Linked DNA regions of Homo sapiens: region 2 is linked to region 1. Evidence: promoter capture Hi-C in human tissues and cell types (Jung and others, 2019). All regions are on one chromosome and are shown on one strand. The core of a region is centred on a gene start or on the middle of the fragment in contact, and the rest is flanking DNA. Distances in the headings are between cores, read along the strand shown. Region 1 holds the start of AQP7 (aquaporin 7). Region 2 overlaps NFX1 (nuclear transcription factor, X-box binding 1).

The links. The method cuts DNA at HindIII sites, captures the fragments that hold promoters and counts their contacts. A contact is called where the count stands out against the background at its distance.
Region 2: a contact is called between a fragment that was not itself captured here and the fragment with the promoter of AQP7 in region 1, in 1 of the 25 tissues and cell types used here (bladder).

What each region holds. Positions count from the first base shown.
Region 1 is chr9:33,399,266-33,405,345 of GRCh38, reverse strand. It overlaps AQP7 (aquaporin 7), which reads left to right and starts at 2,778. Exons shown (of 8, transcript NM_001170.3): 1 at 2,778-2,973; 2 at 4,059-4,109. The coding sequence starts at 4,084. It overlaps LOC105376020 (a long non-coding RNA gene), which reads right to left and starts at 3,825. Exons shown (of 3, transcript NR_188543.1): 1 at 3,524-3,825; 2 at 3,198-3,438. RefSeq lists an enhancer at 453-1,010 and a silencer at 3,561-3,855. The HindIII fragment of the contact is 13,402 bases long and covers 1-6,080 here.
Region 2 is chr9:33,359,002-33,365,051 of GRCh38, reverse strand. NFX1 (nuclear transcription factor, X-box binding 1) reads right to left here. Exons shown (of 24, transcript NM_002504.6): 20 at 944-1,042; 21 at 278-344. Among named protein-coding and RNA genes, the nearest start is that of AQP7, 41 kb to the left of the region's middle. The HindIII fragment of the contact is 9,227 bases long and covers 1-6,050 here.

The sequences.
Region 1 (6,080 bases), core at 1,529-4,028:
TGTGGCAAATATTGTTTCTTTGAAATTTAAATTTAACTGGGCATCTTATATTTTATCTGGTAACTCTACTCAAGCCCATCCTATGAAGAAAGGACCCCGGGTGTCCCCTCCCTCTCTGCCCCCCAACTATCTCCACTGGCTCAGAGACCCAGAGACCCCCCGCCGCAGGCTCTGTGCAGACTAACATGCTTCACAGCTCTGACCCAAACTCCCACCTTGGTGGCCCCTTTAGCTGCCTCTCTTCTCTCTGCAGTTGAACTTTCTGCCTCCTCAGCCTCTGCTTCTTCAGTGCTGTTGCCACCCTCTATCCCCACCAGCTCATCCAGGCAGCTGTCTGCAAACACCTGCCTGGCCAGCCCCTCCCAGCACCCAACTCTGGGGCAACAGCCCCCTACTGGCTCCCATCAGCCTCTGGGCAGCCCTGTGTCTGGGTTTCCAGCTCCTTCCACACCCACTCCTTCTTCGTCATCCTTCTTCCCCAGAATCCTGGCCCTGGCCCTTGCCTCACTCCCTGTGCTTCTTGGGCAGCCCCAGCAACTCTAGTGCTGAATGTCCAGGGGCTGATATCTCCTCTTCTCTTTCTCCAGCTAGACTCCTCTCCCCAGCCCAGGCCCAACTGCGCCTCTGCCTGCTGGATGCCCTGGGGCCTCAGGGACCTCAGGTTGACCCTGTTGCTCTTCTCTTTGTTTAGAACCCTTTGCAGGCTCCTCAGGCCCTCGGGTTAAAGTCAGAACTCCTTGGCCTGGCTGACAAAGCCCTTCATGGTCTATCCCTGCCCACTTCCGCAGCCCTCTGCAAGTCACTCGCAGTTCCCAGGTTTTCTCACAATCCCATCAAGCTTCAAATGCCCCGGTGCCCCATCCCCCTGCTCGTTTTGGAAAACTCAGTTCCCACGTCACCTCTAACGGAAGACCCTTGTACCCCTCCAGCTTGGGATAGCCCCGTCTGTATTCCTTCCAGCCTATCTGGTGTGTCCTAAGTCACCTGCTGCTTACCTGTCTCTGCCGTGAGACAGATGGGACTGTGTCTTCTCCACCTCTCAGTCCCCAGGGTCAAGCCCTGTAAAAGAGCTTAGAGCCTGATCTCTGACCCCAGCATGGATCCCAATTCCCTCCCTCACCAACCTGACACCAGCCCATTCCAACTCTGCCCAAGTGCTGACCTCATCCAAGACCCCAGATCCACTTCTAACATGACCTCATCCCGGCCCTGGGAGCACACATGGGAAAGGAAAAAAGGCAGGACTCTCCCATTTCCAAGCGTGCACCCCTCCCTTCCTGAGGAAGAAAGGCTGAATCTTGAGCCCACGTAGAATCTGCAGAGGGAGGCCGGGCGCAGTGGCTCACACCTATAATCCCAGCACTTTGGGAGGCCGAGGCGGGTGCATTACCTGAGGTCAGGAGTTCGAGACCAGCCTGACCAACATGGTGACACCCCGTCTTTACTAAAAATCCAAAAAAACTAGCTGGGCTTGGTGGTGCATGCCTGTAATCCCAGCTACTTGGGAGGCTGAGGCAGGAGAATCACTTGAACTGGGAGGCAGAGATTGTGGTGAGACAAGACTGTGCCACTGCACTCCAGCCTGGGCGGAGCGGGACTCCGTCTCAAAAAAAAAAGAATCTGCAGAGGGAAGTTAGTGCCTTACAGAGGGCTTCTGACTAGGAAGCCCCGGGACTGTGGCCGACCCCTTCCTCTCCCTGCCTCACCCCTGCAGAAAGATCTGCAGAAAAAGCTGGAAGGGGTGGGAGGGTGTGTGCAGGGGTGGGGACTGGGGCTATGCAGGTTCCAGACCTGGTCTTTGGCACCCTCTACAGGACAGTTCCATTCCCAGACCTGAGCTTTGGACAACTGAATCTTATGCCCCTTCCCACCCATGGAGCCTGGTGCCGGAAGTTCCCAGGACTTACCCACCGTCCACCACGCCACATAGCAAGCGTCCTCAGTGTCTGCAGACCAGAAACACCTCCCTTGTGTCTCAGCACTGGGCCACCTGCTGAAACCCCAAACTGCCTGCCCCATTGTTTGAGACCCAGTCAGGCCTTGGCTCCAAAAGTCCTCTGGGACTGCTGCTGGCCCCCAGGGTCTCTCCTGACTGCACCTCGGTCCCGGAGCTCCCACACCGCTGAGCCCCGAGCCCGATGTCCCGATCCAGCTCTGGGTCCTTTACGGGGGCCTTGCTGGCCTTTCCTAAGGGAGGTGTTTTCCCGAGGACAGGTGGACTGCTCCTCAGACTAGGGGCCCTCGGAGGGCCAGGCCTGGGCTTCTACCTCCTCTCGCAGGCTGGTGTTTCTCTGCAAATATGGCTCGTGTGTCCTCCTTCCTCTCAGACTGGGGGCCCCTGAGGACTGGGCCTGAGTTTCCCTTTCCCCCTTCACAATGGGGGTTCCCTGAGGACTGACCCAGGGCCTCCCCCGTCCCCTCCACCTGGCTGTTAATCTCCAACACTTCCACCTCCAGTCCTATTCTGCACAGCTCTCCCCAGCGCTGGGGGCTCAGAGGCCTCTTCAGCCTTCCCCAGGGCTGGGGCTCAGGGAGGGCTTCCTCAGGCGCTGGCCCCAGAGTCAGGCTGCACATTGGCTTGGAGGACAGGCCTTTCCTCTGGGACTGAGAGGCCCAGAGTGCCCACCCAGAGCTCCACCTCTGACCTCACAAAGGCCTGCTTCAGAACTCGGTCTCCACGGCACTGCTGGCCGGACGAGGGATGTTATTTTGGGCAGTGCATCTGGACTTGGTTCAAGTGGCACCAGCCAAACCCCTGCCTTACTGACCTCTCCCCTGGAGGAGCAGGAGCAGCGCTCGAGGCCGCCCTGGGAGAGCTGAGAGGCAGGCTCTGGACTGGGGACACAGGGATAGCTGAGCCCCAGCTGGGGGTGGAAGCTGAGCCAGGGACAGTCACGGAGGAACAAGATCAAGATGCGCTGTAACTGAGAAGCCCCCAAGGCGGAGGCTGAGAATCAGAGACATTTCAGCAGAGTGAGTGGGGCTCCAGGCAGGGTGGGGATGGGGCAGCCTCCTCAGCGCCCAGATCTGGAAGGGCCATTCCCTGGGTACCATACAGGGAGGAGGTGACTGAGGGATTGTTTGGGGAAGGAGCCCCGTCTGGGAGTGGAAGTCCCGGCTTTCTTGTTATGGTGCAGTCCTGTGTTGCTGTGTGACACAGGCACATACACCCTCTCTCTGGGCCTCAGTTTCCTTACCTGTAAGTTGGTTGTTGGGAGGACCAGCGGTAGAGCAGAGATGGCAGGGATGCACTGAGCTGGGCTGTCAGCAGACCATGGGGGTGGGACGAGGAGAGAGCTGAAGACCACCGGCAGTGGACCACAGCGGGAGGCGTGCAGGCAGGAGACGGGTCAGCTGCCGGCTTGCTGGAGTCATTCCTCCCACGCAGTCCCCTCCTGAGGGGCTGGAGCTGGGGCTGGAGGGTTTCGGCAGTCAGGGCTGGAGATAAGAGTCTGTGCTGGAGCTAGAGGGAACTGGGCTAGAGAATCAGGAGGACAGACAGGGTGAGGGGACTTCGGGCTACCTTCATGCTGTCAGTTAGAGATAAAGATAGGAGTACAAAGGGGAATTTTTGGGTGAGGTACACGGGTGAAATGAGTTTTCAGGGCCTCATCCTGTGTGTTCACCTTCTGTGTGTGTGTGTGTGCATGCGTGCATGTGTGTGTGTGTGCAGGTCCTGGACAGTCGCAGCTTAAGTTAGCAGCAAGAGGACTTGAGGTTAAAGGTATAGCACGCAAATATGAGGCTGGAGCCACTGAGTAGAGGCTGAGGGCATCTCCACAGTCCAAAGCCGGGCTGCAGACACGGAAGGTCAGCAGGAGCACTGGAGGGTCTGGCCTGGGGCTGGGGTCCTGGGGCCAGCATGGGTGGGGTGGGGCTCCAGGGCGTCGCCTCATTGGCTGAGCACCGCTCCTCCCTCCCTGTTCCTTGGCTGGGTTAAGGGAGTGGCACTAGCAGGAGCTGCCCCAGGGCTTCTCCCCTGGGGACCAAGGTCTGATGGAAGTGTGGGGCCAAGTTCTGTGTCCTCCAGCCCTAGTGACCTCTCTTTGGCTCCTCAGCATCTACAAATCTGAAAGACAAAACATGGTTCAAGCATCCGGGCACAGGCGGTAAGTACCCCACCCTCTTCTCACCCTCCAGCCCCCTGTCCTTCACCCAGCCCACTTCAGTGCCCTCCCTGTTCCATCCTCAGCCTCTCCCTTGGGGCAGCTGTCCCCACTCGACCTCCTCCTCCCCACCCACCCACTCGCCTCTGAGGTCCCAGAAGAAGAGCATCTTCCACCTGTTGCCTGGGCTGGGTCCTGGGGTGAGGGGAGGCTCAGAAATACTTGGATGAGGGTCAAGGCATGCAGGTGGCCTTCAACTCAACTGCACTCAGCACCTCTCACCCTCTCAGGCTCAGCTGTCTTTGGGGTGAACAAGAGCCAGTCCTTGCAATGGCCAAGGCCCAGCCTTGTTAGCTTTCTGGCCTCCCCACTCCAGCCCCCTGCTCTCCCTCCTCCAGCCACACTGAGTTTCTTTTCAGGTTTTTTTTTTTTTCCGAGATGGAATCCAGTTCTGTCGCCCAGGCTGGAGTGCAATGGCATGATCTTGGCTCACTGCAACCTCCTCCTCCCGGGTTCAAGCGATTCTCTTGCCTCAGCCTCCTGAGTAGCTGTGATTACAGGATTACAAGCACACACTACCACACCCAGCTAATTATTATTATTATTATTTTGGTATTTTTAGTAGAAATGGGGTTTCGCCATGTTCGCCAGGCTGTTCTTGAACTCCTGACCTCAGGTGATCCACCCGCCTTGGCCTCCCAAAAGGTTGGGATTACAGGTGTGAGCCACTGCACCTGGCCTCACACTGACTTTCTTTGCTTTCTTCAAACATGCTGAGAGTCCTCTGGTGACTAGTCTCCCTCCACCTGAGAGGCTTTCTGCAGCTAACATACAGCCCACTCTCGTCTCCTTCATGGCTTTGCTCCAAGGCCACCTTCTCAACAAGGATTACTCTGGCTGCCCTATTTGAAATCACACCCCATCTCCAGCCCCTGCACTCCCAATTCCCCTCTCCTTGCTCTGTTTTTTTCCGTAGGAGCTGGTACCTTCGCTTATACAAATGTACTTACTTATTACATTTCATTGCTGTCAGCTCCACGCAAGCAGGGATATTTGCCTGTTGTACACTTGGACGGAGAGAATGAATAGTGCCACTCTGTTGACATCATTGCCTCTAGCCTACATCGCTCTCCAGGGCTTTAGATCCTGTTTCTAGAGACCCACTGGTGTCTCACAGGCAACTCAGCTCCTAGATGGAAACAGCCTCCTCCGCCCCCTGCAAGTCCACTCCTCCTGTGCTCTTGGCTCAGTCAGGGGTCCCCTTCTCCTCAGTTGCTCAAGCCAGAAGTCAAGGTCATGTCCTTCATACTTCCCTCTCCCCCATGTCTCACATCCAGTCACCAATCTCCTAAAATATCTAGAATGTGCACAGCTTCCACCATTCTTTCTACCACCACCCTACTCCCCCATGGCCATGTCAGGCCACCACCCGCCCATTCTTCAAAACCCCCTTCAGGCCTCACCTCCCATGCCTTCCCTGAGCTCCCCCAGTCCCAGGCTGCTTCTCTCTGGTGTTGTTGCCATTACCCATCTCTTCCATTAAACAGAGTGACCCAAGGGTGGAGAGTGGGTTTTGACTTTGTATCCCTGGTGCTTGACTCATAAGTAGATGCTCAACAAAAAAAAATTTTTTTTTTTTGAGATGGAGTCTTGCTCTGTTGCCCATGCTGGAGTGCAGTGGCATGATCTCGGCTCACTGCAACTTCTGCTTCTTGGGTTCAAGCGATTCTCATGTCTCAGCCCCTCCCCCCCCAGCTGGTATTACAGGTGCCTGCCACCATGCCCAGCTAATTTTTTTTTTATTATTAGTGGAAATGGGGTTCTGCCATGTTGGCCAGGCTGGTCTTGAACTCCTGACCTCAAGTGATCCACCTGCCTCGGCCTCCTAAAGTGTTGGGATTACAGGCATGAGTCACCATGCCTGGCCAACCAATGTTTGTTGAATTAAGAAATGTTGGTTAGCAGGTTGAATTG
Region 2 (6,050 bases), core at 790-3,289, 40 kb after region 1:
TCTGCCTGCCTTGGCCTCCCAAAGTGCTGGCATTACAGGCATGAGACACTGTGCCCAGCCGACTGTAGATCTTTTCTGCAGTCAACTGTCCTGAACCAGGACAGGCTTCCACAGATGTTATAATGGCTGTGTTTTGAGAAAGATAAGGATCCTCAAAGAAGTTGTGACTTTTTCCTACAACTACTCTAGGTTGAAAGTGTTTCCAGGACTTGATTGCTTTTTTTTTTTCATCAAGCTGGCCTTAGAGAAATGTCCAGTGGGATGTTTCGACTTCAACCTTATTCACGGCCTCCACGAGGGTTTCCATTTCCTTCTCAACGTCACTGACAAACTTTAAGTCCTTCCTGAAATGAGAAATCACCAGTTAATTTTGTCTGTCCCTGCCCTTCTGAGAACCCCTTTCACCCATCCTCTCCCTGTAAAGCGTAGACAATAGACAATGCTGGCAGTAAAACTGCAGAGATCAGGAATTGTCAGAAAACAGAAGGATGACTGACGGAAGAACAAAAGAGAAAAATATAAGAAATGAGAAGATGAAAGGAGAAGTAGCCACTGAAAGGCCAGGGACTCCAGGAGAAAAATAAGAGCTGTTATAGCTCCAACTGAGAACGCATGTGAATGTGAGACTGGGGTGGACAGAAGTGGAATGAAGCCCAGAGATCCTCCAATTTAGTCTAGTCCAGCCCTTGGGAGGCCCAAACTCTTACCACCACCCCACCCAAACTCTTATCTCAACCCTACCCCAAGTTCAGTTCTTTAAGGGGACAGTTTCGAGAAACCAAGAGAAGGATATTTATTAAACAGCACATAATCTCTTACAATAGATAAACAAACAAACTTGAACTGGCTTAATCACAGGAGGAGTACATATTAGTTATGACATCTCAAAAGACCAAACACCCTGACAAGCCACAATTAAGAAAGCAGGTAACAAGTTACATACCTGGCATCTTCTTTCAAACTATCACTGAATTTTGACCCTGAAGAACGTATATTGAAAGGATCAGAATCCTCACTGATATGAAATGCCTCTGCTAATCTCCTGAAAGAGAGAGAGAGGTATGCAAATAAAAGGAGTGGGAGGGAAACTATCTTGCAGTAACCCCGAGTGCCTACTATATCCTAAATTCTTTACACATTATTTATCTCTATTTTGGTAAACTGGATTATTAAGGAGAGAATAACAACAACTTGGGACATGAGGTGGTATTGTCTTCATAAAAGAAAATAAACAGATCTATAAGGATCTGAGCAAGTCATAGGCTGAACACTGGGGACTTAGATTATTTGGGGAAGAGGAGTTTGGGGGTGTGGGATCACTGAGAATGGTCAATGGGGGATGACTTTCTCTGAGGCTTTGTTTAAAGATAAGGTACATAAAATAGACATACAAATGTTAAAATTAATATAGAAATCTGAAAAGTAAAGAATTCCATTAACATATACACTTCATTTTTATACATTTCTTGGCTGGGTGCGGTGGCTCACACCAGTAATCCTAGGACTCTGGGAGGCCAAGGTAGATGGATCACTTGAGGCCAGGAGTTCGAGACCAGCCTGGCCAATATGGTGAAACCCTGTCTCTACTAAAAATACAAAAATTAGCCGGGTGTGGTAGCACGTGCCTGTAATCCTAGCTGCTAGGAGGCTGAGGCATGAGAATCACTTGAACTCAGGAGAAAGAGGTTGCAGTGAACCGAGATTGTGCCACTACACTCCAGCCTGGGCAACACAGTGAGACTCTGTCTAAAAATAATAATAATAATAATAATAATAATAATAATAATACATTTCTTTATTATTTTATTTTTATTGACCCATTGTCATTGCTTCATATTTATGAAGCAGTTTGATGTTGATGTCTCGGTACATATATACTATGTTGTATAATGACCAAATCAGTGTATTAGGCATATCCATCACCTGATGCCCTTATTATTTCACTGTGGTGAGAATACACAGAAGCCTCTTTTCTAGCTATTTTGTAAAATACTACACCTTACCGTTAACCATCATCACCCCAGTGTGCCATAGAACACGAGAACTTAGGCTGGGTACGGTGGCTCACGCCTGTAATCCCAGCACTTTGGGAGGCCGAGGCGGGCGGATCACCTGAAGCTGGGAGCTCGAGACCAGCCTGACCAACATGGAGAAACCTCGTCTCTACTAAAAACACAAAAATTAGTCAGGTGTGGTTGTGCATGCCTGTAATCCCAGCTACTCAGGAGGCTGGGGCAGGAGAATCGCTTGAACCCGGGAGGCAGAGCTTGCAGTGAGCTGAGATAGCGCCATTGCACTACAGCCTGGGCAACAAGAGCAAAACTCCTTCTCAAAAAAAAAAAAAAAAAAAAAAAAAAAACCACAGGAACTTATTACTACCATCTATTTGTAACTTTATATCCACTGACCAACCTCTCCTCAACCTCCCTTTTCCACCCTGTCCCTCTTCTCAGTCAGACAACACTGGTCTACTCTCTGCTTCTGTATTATTTTTTAAATATTCTACATATGAGTGAGATCGTGTGGTGTCTGTCTTTCTGTGTCTGGCTTATTTCACTTAACATGATGTCCTCCAGGTCCATCCATGTTGTTGCAAATGACAGGGTTTCATTTTTTTTATGGCCGAATAGTATTTCATTCTGTATATATACCCCATTTTCTTTATCCATGCAGCCATGTTGGCCACTTCAGTTGATTTCATATCTTGGCTATTGTAAATAGTGCTGCAACAAATATGAGAGTACAGGTATCTCTACAGATTTTATTTCCTCTGTAGAGATACCAAGTAATAGGATTGCTGGATCATATGGTAGTTCTATTTTTAATGTGAGGAAATTCCATACTGTTTTCCATAGTGGCTGTACTAATTTACAATCCCACCAAGAATGTGTAAGTGTTCCCTTTTTTCTAATTGTTTTTTTTTTTTTTTTGAGGCTGGGTCTGGCTCTTGTTGCCCAGGCTGGAGTGCAGTGGCATGATCTCAGCTCACTGTAACTTCCACCTCCTGGGCTTAAGCCATCCTCCTACCTCAACCTCTCCAGTAGCTGGCACTACAAGTGTGCCACCATGCCCGGCTAATTTTTGTATTTTTTGTAGAGACAGGGTTTTGCTATGTCGCCCAGGCTGGTCTTGAACTCCTGAGCTCAAGTGATCCGCTGGCCTCAGCCACCCAAATGCTGGGATTATGGGGATGAGCCGCTGTAACGGGCCCCTTTTTTCACTATAACGTTTCTCTCTATGTGTATATATATATATTTTTGGAGATGGAGTCTTGCTCTTGTCGCCCAGGCTGCTCTTGTCGCCCAGGCTGGAGTACAATAGCATGATCTCGGTTCACTGCAACCTCCACCTCCTGGATTCAAGCGATTCTCCTGCCTCAGCCTCCCGAGTAGCTGGGATTACAGGCGCCCGCAACCATGCCCAGCTAATTTTTGTATCTTTAGTAGAGATGGGGTTTCACCATGTTGGCCAGGCTGGTCTTGAACTCCTGACCTCAGGTGATCCACCCGCCTCGACCTCCCAAAGTGCTGGGATTACGGGTGTGAGCCACTGCGCCCAGCCTTTCTCTATAATTTTAAGTACCGCCATTATTATATTCAAAATTGTCTCACCCCCCCAAAAATAAGAATGTGAGGTAATGCATATGCTAATTAGCTTGATTTAGCCATTCCACAATGTATACATACACATCATGCTGTATTACCATAAATATATACCATTTTTATTTAATAAAAAAATTTTAAAAATTAAAAAAACCTTGTTTCTTTGCCTCTCAGCATTATCTTGTTAGCATTTCTCATATTATTATTTTGTTTTCACACTTAACTGTCTTCATGGCTCATAGTCTTCTAATTATGTTCCCATATTTTAATCATTTCCCATTTAGGTTTCTTTAACAGTTCCTCAGTTTCTCAATATTATATACGACACAATTAATATCTCTGTGCAAAAAGCTTTGAAAATGTTTCCAGTTGTGGGGTACATGGAGTGGACATAAGACTCTTGATCAATGTGGAGTAAGTGGTCTCCAGAAATGCCACTTAGTGCCCTAGCCATCAGTGTCTGAATCTCATGGCATCTCACCAACATTCAAGTTATTTTATTTTTTTAAAGCTAGATTTCAGCTTAGCACTTAGTACAATTTTCATTTACACTGCACCAAGAGTCACTTACAAGCTTAGTGCCCACAAGAATCTGGTTCACACTGCTAGATTTCCAATTTTTCAAAAGACACTTACTTTTCAAATTTTCAAGAGAATTTCTAGGGGAAGATCTTTTGATGTTTTGGTTAGTTGGCCACTAATTCAAATTTAAACACCAATAAAACCTGTCTGTGGGCTGAATTTGGCCTGCTAGGTTTTTATTTCTACAATAGAGATATACACACATACATATATATACACACAGGTGTATGCGTGTATATATGTGTGTGTATATATAGATATAACTTTAGATGGACTTTTCTTTAAATTTGCATTTTTTTCTCTTAGGTTTGTGTGTATTTATGAAAGACTCTATCCAGTAAGGGTCATTATGTCATCACCAAGATTGAGGAGAAATTCAAAAGGCTTTCAAAAATAGCTAGTTTTAATCAATAACATTTACTGAGTACCTACTATGTGCCAAGCTCTTGTGCCAAGAGCTTTATGAGTATCATTTTTAATGTATTAATCCTCACAACAACTCTGGAAGGTAAATACTGTTATTGTCATCATTTCTAGATTTTTAAGAAACCTAAGGCTTACAGACAATATGTGACTTGCCCAAGGTCTCATAGCTAAGTGATTTGTGAAGCCAGGATTCAAATCCAGACAATCTGACTCCAGAGCTCTGGCTCTAACTAGTATACAATATGTCTTTCAACCACCAAAAGTACATTTCCATGTTTGGAGACCTTCTGTGTATTCACTATAGCATTTCTGAATACCTAGGACTCCTAATTTACATTCTGCAGCTGAGAACACTGACTGACGGTTCCTAAAGGGCAAGGGTTTTGAACGGCACTCACTAGAAAGTTATTATAAGGGTCAAACCAAGGAAAATTTGGACAGCACTACTAGTCATCATATTACCTTCTACACACTTAATATGTAAAGAGGTACTATTAAAATTGCTGAAAGTCAAACTTCAAGGTAAAATAGGGCTATACTTTGTCTGCATTTGTCTAACTTTTTATCTTAAACAAATTTCAAAGACAAGTTATGAGAATATTACCATAAACTTCTATATAACCTTCACCTAAATTCTCCAATTATTAACAATTTGCAGGGCTATTCAATTTAATCAATCTTTGCTAGAATCAGAAAGTTTGTCAGTTGTTGAATAAATGCCTCTTGATCTGATAGAGTATCCTCAAATAACTTACTGCAGACATCATATTTAATGGTGAAATACTTAAAGTTTTCCCCATGAGATGGAGGATTAGTCAGGAACATCTATTTTTTTTTTTTGGTGAGACTGAGTCTTGCTGTATCGTCTAGGCTAGAGTGTGGTGGCGCCATCTCGGCTCACTGCACCCTCTGCCTCCCAGGTTCAAGCAATTCTCTTGCCTTAGCCTCCTGAGTAGCTGGGACTACAGGCGTCTGCCACCATGCCCGGCTAATTTTTGTATTTTTAGTAGAGACAGGGTTTCACCATGTTGACCAGGCTGGTCTCGAACTCTTGACCTCAAGTGATCCGCCCGCCTCAGTCTCCCAAAGTGCTGGGATTACAGGCGTGAGCCACCGCGCCCGGCCAAGGAATATCTATTATTACCACCCTCCATTCAACAATATACTGAAGGCCCTAACCAATACAATGAGGTAAGAAGAAGAAATAAAAGTTAAGAATTGGAAAGAAGGAAAAAAGATAAAAGAAAAAAGAAAGGAAAAAAATAACAGGAATTGACAATAAATAAAATTACTATTATTAGAAGACATGACTGTGTATATACAAAATCCAAAATAATCTACAATATCAGAAATAAGTGAATTTAGCGAGGTTGCTAAATAAGTCAATAATTATCAATTGTATTTCTAAATACCAGCAACAAGCAATTAGAAAATACCAAT